Linked DNA regions of Homo sapiens: region 1 is linked to region 2. The links are contacts of gene promoters, found by promoter capture Hi-C in blood cells and fetal thymus (Javierre and others, 2016). All regions are on one chromosome and are shown on one strand. Each heading gives the region's core, a stretch centred on a gene start or on the middle of the fragment in contact. The rest is flanking DNA. Distances are from core to core; before and after follow the strand shown.

Region 1 (3,611 bases), core at 1,112-3,611, 290 kb after region 2:
AGCCTGCCATCTCTGAGGGCTGCAACATTTCTACCTCCTTACCAACACTTGTTATTTTCTTTTTTTTAAAAAAAATAAAAAGTTCTAGCCATCCTAGGGGGTGTGCTGTGGCATTAATTTACTTTTCTCTAACGATGGGTGGTGGGGGTGTCATCTTTCCTGGGCTGTTGGGCGTTTGCACCGCCTCCCTTGCTTGTTATCAGCTGTGGACAGTGGACAGGTCACTCTCCTCCCCTAAACCTCAGTTTCTTCTTCTGTCCAAAAAGGAACTGGCCTAGGGTCATGGCCTCCAAGTGTCTTCACCCACATGGCCTGGAAAATAATTTAAAAAAATAATAGCCCTTGACACCTTTTAAGATTGACAGCTACCATTTTTCCACCATGAAGTTTACATGGTTGCAAAGTATGTGATTTCCAGTGTACTGTAAATTTTGGCATTTAAAAAAATAAAACTGCTGTTCTCTCTATAGAAGCCAAAGCTGACATTTTATCCTGCTTCCAATATCATTGAAGAAGTCACAGTTCTTCAGTTGAAACCAAAAATCACAGAGTCCCCAAATTATAAAACCTTAACTACTTCCTGTGGACCTGGACTCTACAATAACAAGAATTTTAGCTGTGACTTTTGCTTTTCCAAGCCGGTGTCCTAGCTTTTAGGATTAGCATAATCACGTGAGGAAGCTGCCGCTAACCACCAGAGACAGAGGAATGTACATTTACTAACCTTGATTCTCTTGGGAATTTTTTTTCCCTTTAAATACTTGTTGGATTTTTGTATTTGGTGAGTCAGTCCTTCTGAAGTCTGGCTCCTTTGCAAGAAAGCTTTTTTTTTCTAAGTGCAATCTGCCTCCAGTTTTCCTTGGGCAATCCTTTTAAGTGTATCCAATGAAATAGAAATAAGGTAGCAATGTGACCCAATAAAAGGGCAGGTTCTTTTTGATCCTTTTCTTCTTTACCTCTGGGTTCTGTTTCATTTCTTCTCCAAAACCTTATTGTAATAAAAAATATTTTTATGTTTGAAAGTAATTCACTGCTCACCCAAGCATATGTCTGCAACAAGAACAGGCACATCAGTTATTCAAACTTTAAAAAATATTAACCTATGTCTCAAAAATGCTCATCAAAGTAAATTCTTTTAGAATTAGACCAGGTCTAGAAATATCAATATTTGAACCATAATTTAGATTTAAAATATTTTATTTCCTGTGACTCTAAGGCTCTCAGTATTTAAAAAATTTATTCTGGATTGAATATTAAATTGAATTGTTAAATTGATCAAACCAGCATAAATATATTAAAATTGCAGTATATGTTTATTATATACATAAAAGTTAAATTTTTGTTGGACTGCATCTCTTAATGAGATGGGTGGGATTGTATTTTTTCCCAATGGTTCAGATGTCATTGGATAAATATTATTTCTTATCTGGGACAGAGCCCAGAATCAATTCCAAACCTGTTTTTATTTTGATGGGCTTGGACCGTGAGAAAACTCATTTACGTAAATTGATCCGTGGTGATGGACAGTTCTCTTAGGGTTATGTCTCTCCACTGTTTGAACCTCTTCAGACATTGAAGCCAAAAGTCACACAGTGATCTGTCACCAAAACCAAAGCCAAAAACACAGCCTGATTGGGTTCTCCAGGCGCCAGGAGAGACTGGGGCCTTCGGGGATCGCTTTCCCGGCTCCGCGGGTGCGCGAGGGGCCCGGGTCCCTGCCCCGCCCCAGAGGTGCCCCATCCCTCCTCCAACCCCACAGGATGGAAGGGCGATCTCTTCCAGGGCGCGGTCCGGGCTAGGCACGGAGGCATCCCGGGGATGGGGGTCCCGAGGCCCAGTCCCTCCCTCGCCCTTGCGGGACCGCACCGCCGGCGGCCCAGGCGCGGGCACCCCTGACCTGGGCGGGTTGCGCGTTGGCTGCGCCGCGCCCTGGGATGCGGTACTCAGGCGCTCCGGGCGGCGGGGGGCGCGCAAGGCCCGGCGAGGGGCGGAGGGCCCGGGGGACTGCGCTGACCGTTCCTTCGCGGGGTGCGGGGCTGGAGCCCACCGCGCTCCCGGAGGCCGTCGGGCACCCAGGGTGCCCCGCAGGGCCCGGCCGCGGAGAGGGCAAAGACGTGGCAGCCGGCGAGGGGGAGGGGGCGGCACTAGCCTGCTGCGCGTGCGCCGACCCGGGTGCGACCCCCGCCGCCCGCCCTACCCGCTACGGCCCACCCCGAGGGCCTGTTCCCATCGCTTGTTCACCCGCGTCGGGGTCCCGAGTGGGTGTGTGGGGTGCGTGTGTTATGTGGCGTGTACAGGGCTGCAGCGTGTGCAGTGTGGGTGAAGGGTGTTGTTCGGGCGCGTGTGGGGTGTGTGGCTGCTTGTGGCATGAGGTGGTGCACACGGTGCCAGGTGTGTGCAGTGTGTGCGTGTGTGTTGTGTTGTGTGTCTGTGTCTGGGTGGGGGGATGGGGTGGCAAGCGCATGAGTGTGCCTGTGAGTGTGCCGGTGTGCAGCGTGCGTGGATGCCCGTCGCACATGTGCAGTGTGTGTGGCGCGTGTGCGGGATGCCGGTGTCCCGGTCCCGCCTGAGCCCCAGCTCTCGGCTTCTTGGACTGCGGTGGTGGCGGCGGTGGCGCCGGATCCGAGGAGCGCAGCGCCGCGCGTCACCATGGCAACAGATGCTCCTGCAGCCCCCGCGCCGCTGCGGTGGGGAGGGGGCCCTGCGCACCTCAGAAGGCGGGCGTGGGGGAGGGGAGGCTGCTCGTCCCAAAGAAGCCCGCGGAGGAACTGGGCTGCCCCAGCACGCACCCCTGGGAATCCTCCCTCGCCTTGACATCCCTCCTGGTGGGGCGCCGGGGCAGGGGTCGGGACGCGGTGCCCTCCTCGGTCCCTGCTGCTTGCCCGGGGAACCCGGGGACCTCACTCGGGTCCTCTGCCGGCCTGGAGCTGGGGACAGAGTAATTCCTGCTGTTTCTTTCCCCTGAGAGTCCCCCGCGCCAGGTGTTTGCAGCTCCTAGGTCGGAAGCCTCAGGCGTGGTTATTGGCTCTTAGGATCGGCTTGTGGGAGATGAACCCGCCCATACTAAAGATGGGGAGCCCAGGCCTTAAGGAGCCCAGGACGGCATCGCGAACAGACTTGTCGGTTACATGAACCTACAGGTTCTCCTGTTCCGACCCGGGACACAAGAAAAGGCTTATGGTGAACCAAGGAAGTCCCTGCCTTTGACAGAGGCCGGACGTCAGTGCAGAGGAGAGAATCTGGGCCCGTGCTCCCTGCATTCTGGAAAGAAAGGGCTTGTTTGCATAAGCAAGCAGCGCCTCTCTGGGAAGGAGCTGGCCAGGCCCCACTGGGATTGAGCCTGGAGGTGCCTGTGCTCCCCTCCCTCCTCTGCCCAGTTCCTGGCCCAGGGGTGGTGCTGCCTTTTCATCCGTTTAACCTGAGGAGGATGGGCAGGACCAGCTTTCACTCCCTCATGCATTCATTTATCCATAACCTTTATCAGGTGCAGCGATTCTGGAGTGTCTGGCCCAGGCCAGCAGCAGCGGAATCACGCAGGCTCTGGTCAGAAATGCAGAGTCTCAGGCCCACCCTAGACCTTCAGGTTAAGGAGTGTGGGAGTGGATGTGCCT
Region 2 (4,155 bases), core at 1,295-3,794:
GGGACTACATGTGCGCACCACCACGCCCGGCTAATTTTTATATTTTTAGTAGAGATGGGGTTTTACCATGTTGGCCAGGCTTGTCTCAAACTCCTAACCTCATGTGATCCACCTGCCTTGGCCTCCCAAAGTGTTGGGATTACAGGCGTGAGCCACAGTGCCCGTACTCTGATTCTCTTTAATTCCTAGTAAATATAAGCCCGGAATAACTGCCCATAGGGAATTTTACCATGTGGCTTTCATTATTCCCTTCCTTCTCTCCCTCAGAAGCCGATCCATCTTCCGGATGGGACCTGGTTTTAGAGAAACAATTGAACAGTTTCAAGCAACAGCTTTCTTTTTCTTGGTCCTTATCCCCTCCTGAATTCTGCACATCTGTTTATTTACTTGTTACTTCTCTGCCACCCCCAGGCTGTTGTCACGTCTTTGTCCTGTTTGTCAGGAACCATAGCACTATATCATGCCTGTCAGGTGGCGGAGATGCCACAAAAGCAAAGCTCCATGAATGAATGAAAAATATAATTATTAAAACATCGAAGGAACAGCAGGATTAGATCACCCCAGAAAAGTCACCTCAAATATAACTTGTGTCTGGGACAAAACTGGGGAAAAGAAATACAACGTAGAGAAAGTAGCGCGATCAGAGTAAGTGTTCTGGGGACTCTGAGTTTCTCCACGATTTACGTAGCACAGGAATATATATATATATATATATATATGTATATCTTTTTTAAAAAATTAAAGATTCAAGCTATTTTTATCTGTCAAAGGAATATAGATATGTTCAAAGAGACAGACAGTGACAGTTCCCTGTGATCTTCCCTTTCCTTCCCAAGATAATCATTGATAACATTTAGGACCACATTCTTTCAACATTTTTCTATGTTTTAAACACACACACACACCCTGAATTAGAGATCATAGTATACCTACCCTTTTACATTTATGCCTATCGTTTTATTAATAATACCTTTAGTCTTTCCATGTCAATACATACAGACCCACCTTTAAAAAAATGAAACAATACCGATGTGTCTAAGGTAAAAAGGCCAAACTCTTTCCAATCGTTTCTATCCTTTTAAACAGAGCCTAAGCGAGCAGAGGCCCGGTGGCAGGGATCTTCACTCAGCCGCCCTCCCTGTGCGCGCTCAGTGCTTCCACCCAGGCCCCAGGACGGTGACCGCGGACTATCGCGGGCCGCCTAACCGCAGGGACCCCTCCCATCGCGGGTCACCCCCAAGCCTGCGAGAGGGGATCTGTCCTTGCAGGAGGGAGGCGCGGGGCCGGGCTGGTCTCCGGCCACAGCGAGTGGCCCCGGAGCAAGGTCAGGGGCGGTATCCAACAGCCCCGCGCCCTGCAGAGCCCTCTACTCTTAGGAGGACTGCGCGCAGGGACCGCCACGCAGAGTGGTTGCCATGGTGACTGCAGAGTGAGCGGTCCCGGGTTTTAGAGGGAGTCGCGCGCTTGGAGTAGGGGAAAGAGGGAGGCCGAGAGAGGACAAAGGGACAGGAGGGGAGAAGTGAGAAGGGTTGGCGGGGGGGTGAGGGGCTGAACGCAGTGGACGGGAAAGGCCAGCAAAATGGCGAGAGAAGGGACACAGGCGAGAGGAAGGGGGAGTGGAGGCGAAGGGGCGAGGCAGGAGCCGACGCGGGGGCCACCTGGAGCGGTGAACGGAGAGCGCGGCCTGGCGACTCCAAGACCCGCTGCCCCTCGGCCCGGCTTACCGGCCCGCCGCGCCGCCCGGTTCCGCCATTTCCCGTTGCTAGGCGACGCTGTCAACATCCGGCCGGGCCGGGACCACGCGCGCTGCGAGGGCGGGGGCCGCCGGGGGCGGCGCGGCCTTTGTGCCATCTCCACGCACGCAGAGGCGCGCGCCGTCTCGACGTGTCGTCCCTTAGACTGTAATGATTAGAGCACGACCATGCTTTTCCTTTATCGCTCTCTGCGCCCGGGTCCCGCCTCGGCTGCGCTCAATTTCTGTAAAGCGACAGCGGCGTCAGCGTGTGCCCAGCGGGCGGCTCGAGGTCCCGAAGGGACCTGCCGGGCACCTGGGGACCCCGGACTGCTAAGCGCCCGGGAATGGCAGGCGGGCTGGGGGCACCGGGGGCCGGGGACCCCGCGCATGGCGAGCGCTTTTCCATCTCCTGCCCTAGGGGGCTCCGGTGCCCTTCTCCAGGGGTCCTACGGAGACTCCTTGCATGGACGCCCGGGGGGTCTTCCGGAGCGTATCTTCCCTTCCTAGTCCGAAATAGGAGAAATCTCCCTGCAGAGGGCGGCAGCGGAGGGCCAGCGCGCACGCGGAGCGTCCGAGGAGCCCTGCCTTTCCTTTGGGGACGCCAGGCTCGGGACGGGGCACAGTCCCCGAGGCCGGGACGCGGCGAGGCCTGAGGGAGGGCCAGCAGGGAACTAGAGGCTTGGGCCCAGGGCTGGGCCAGAAGGTGGGCGGGGAGACCGGCGGGGGCAGGCAGGGGCCGGGCCGGGGGCGGGCCCGGGGGCGGGCCGGGGGCCGGGCCTCCCCGCGCGTCCCCGCCCCGCCGCGCCTCACTGGCGGCGGCAGCGGCGGAGGCGACGGTGGCGGCTCTCGGAGCCGGCGCGAATCCGGCCCCCGCAGCGGGACCCGGGTGGGTATCGGGGCCCGGACGGGGCCGCGGGGGCGGGGTCCGAGGGGTCCACCGCGCAGCGAGCAGCGCCCCCTCGGCGGAGCTGGGGCGGGGGCGCGCGGGGCGCGTGGGGCGCGTGGGCCTGCAGCCGCGGGACCGGGGAGGGGCCGGGGTCCGGCCGCCGTCCTCGGGGTGCGGGGCGCCAGCAGGAGCGGGAGCGTTGTGGGAGGACCTGGATCACGGAGGGGCACCTGGGGACTTTTCCCCGCGGCGAGTGAGGGCGCCCGGGCCCGGAATGGGCCTAATTCGGGGAGACTGGTCCCCGCCTGTCTGGAGCGGTGGACCGGGGAACTTGCGGTCTTTGTCTGGCTGAATCGGCGGAGCAGACGGATGAGAACTTGTGGGGTGCCGGCGCGCGCCCACACAGCCTCCAAAGTGTGCGTCCCCCCAGCAGCGCGCGCTCAGCTTTCCCGGCCTGTCGGGCTTGGTGGTCTGGGCTGTTTAAGATCCGCGTGTCGGGATACTCACTTCCGTTCCGCCTGGGCTCCCTTGTTCTTTCCTTTGGGAAAAAAAAAAAAAGAAAAAGAAAGAAAGAACGAAAGGAAGGAAAGAAAAAAAGGAAAGGCAACTGAAGATTGCTAAACATAACCTAGGGGATCCTGCCGGAAGCCGCTGAATCCTGAAATCCTGTGATTCCCACACTCGGAAGCTGGTGTCGTATATTGGCCACAAAGTAGTTCAGATTTGATTCAGAAATAGGAAATGAATAGAAAAGACATAACAAAAGTTAGTCTCGCCTTATGGTAAAGTTTGTTTTACTGTCTGGGTCAAGTTCAAATGAGAAGCTGGGCTGATTGGCCAGCCTCTGCGACTTGATCCTGAAGATCTGCTTTCTTTTCTACCAGAAGGCTCCTAATTCTTTTATCTGGAATAAAAAGGGAACTCCGTCTTAAAGATGCTCACGTGAGGCGGCATATTGCCAGAGGGTGGGCGCAAAGACTGGGGGCTGGAGATTCCATTCCAAATCTGTTACTGATTGATCAGAACACTTTTTCAAATCCATGCCTCAGTTTTAGAAAATCCTCATTAGAAACGCTAACAGTAAAATTGGTGAATACTAAACACTTTTAAGAACCATGAAAGCTTTTGTAAATAAAGAATAAAGTGAGGAGTAACTTTTGGTATTAACTACAAAGTTCATTAATGGATGTTGTTTGCATCCTGAGCGTGGTTATTGTGCGCATATTTTTTTGTAAGTGGCATGTTTATGGTGAGACTATGGCTAACGAAAGTTTTTATGGCGAAAGTTTTTATGGCTGGGCGCCGTGGCTCACGGCTGTAATCCCAGCACTTTGGGAGGACGAGGCGAGCGGATCACCTGAGGTCAGGAGTTCGAGACCAGCCTGGCCAATATGGTGAAACCCCCCATATCTACTAAAAATACAAAAATTAGCCCGGTGTGGTGGCGTGAGCCTGTAATCCCAGTACTCAGGAGGCTGAGACAGGGGAATCGCTTGAGCTCGGGAGGCGAAGGTTGCAGTGAGCCAAGATGTGC

The links. The method cuts DNA at HindIII sites, captures the fragments that hold promoters and counts their contacts. A CHiCAGO score of 5 or more calls a contact.
Region 1: a fragment that was not itself captured here is called in contact with the fragment with the promoter of TBC1D16 in region 2 in 1 of 17 cell types (total CD8 T cells); the score reaches 6.1 in total CD8 T cells.

What each region holds. Positions count from the first base shown.
Region 1 is chr17:79,746,756-79,750,366 of GRCh38, reverse strand. No RefSeq gene overlaps it. Among named protein-coding and RNA genes, the nearest start is that of ENPP7, 18 kb to the right of the region's middle. RefSeq lists an enhancer at 1,741-2,680. The HindIII fragment of the contact is 3,074 bases long and covers 825-3,611 here.
Region 2 is chr17:80,034,261-80,038,415 of GRCh38, reverse strand. It overlaps TBC1D16 (TBC1 domain family member 16), which reads left to right and starts at 2,544. Exons shown (of 12, transcript NM_019020.4): 1 at 2,544-2,621. It overlaps CCDC40 (coiled-coil domain 40 molecular ruler complex subunit), which reads right to left and starts at 1,774. Exons shown (of 20, transcript NM_017950.4): 1 at 1,725-1,774; 2 at 230-293. The coding sequence starts at 1,753. RefSeq lists enhancers at 972-1,266, 2,166-2,285 and a silencer at 2,476-2,545. The HindIII fragment of the contact is 6,044 bases long and covers 1-3,745 here.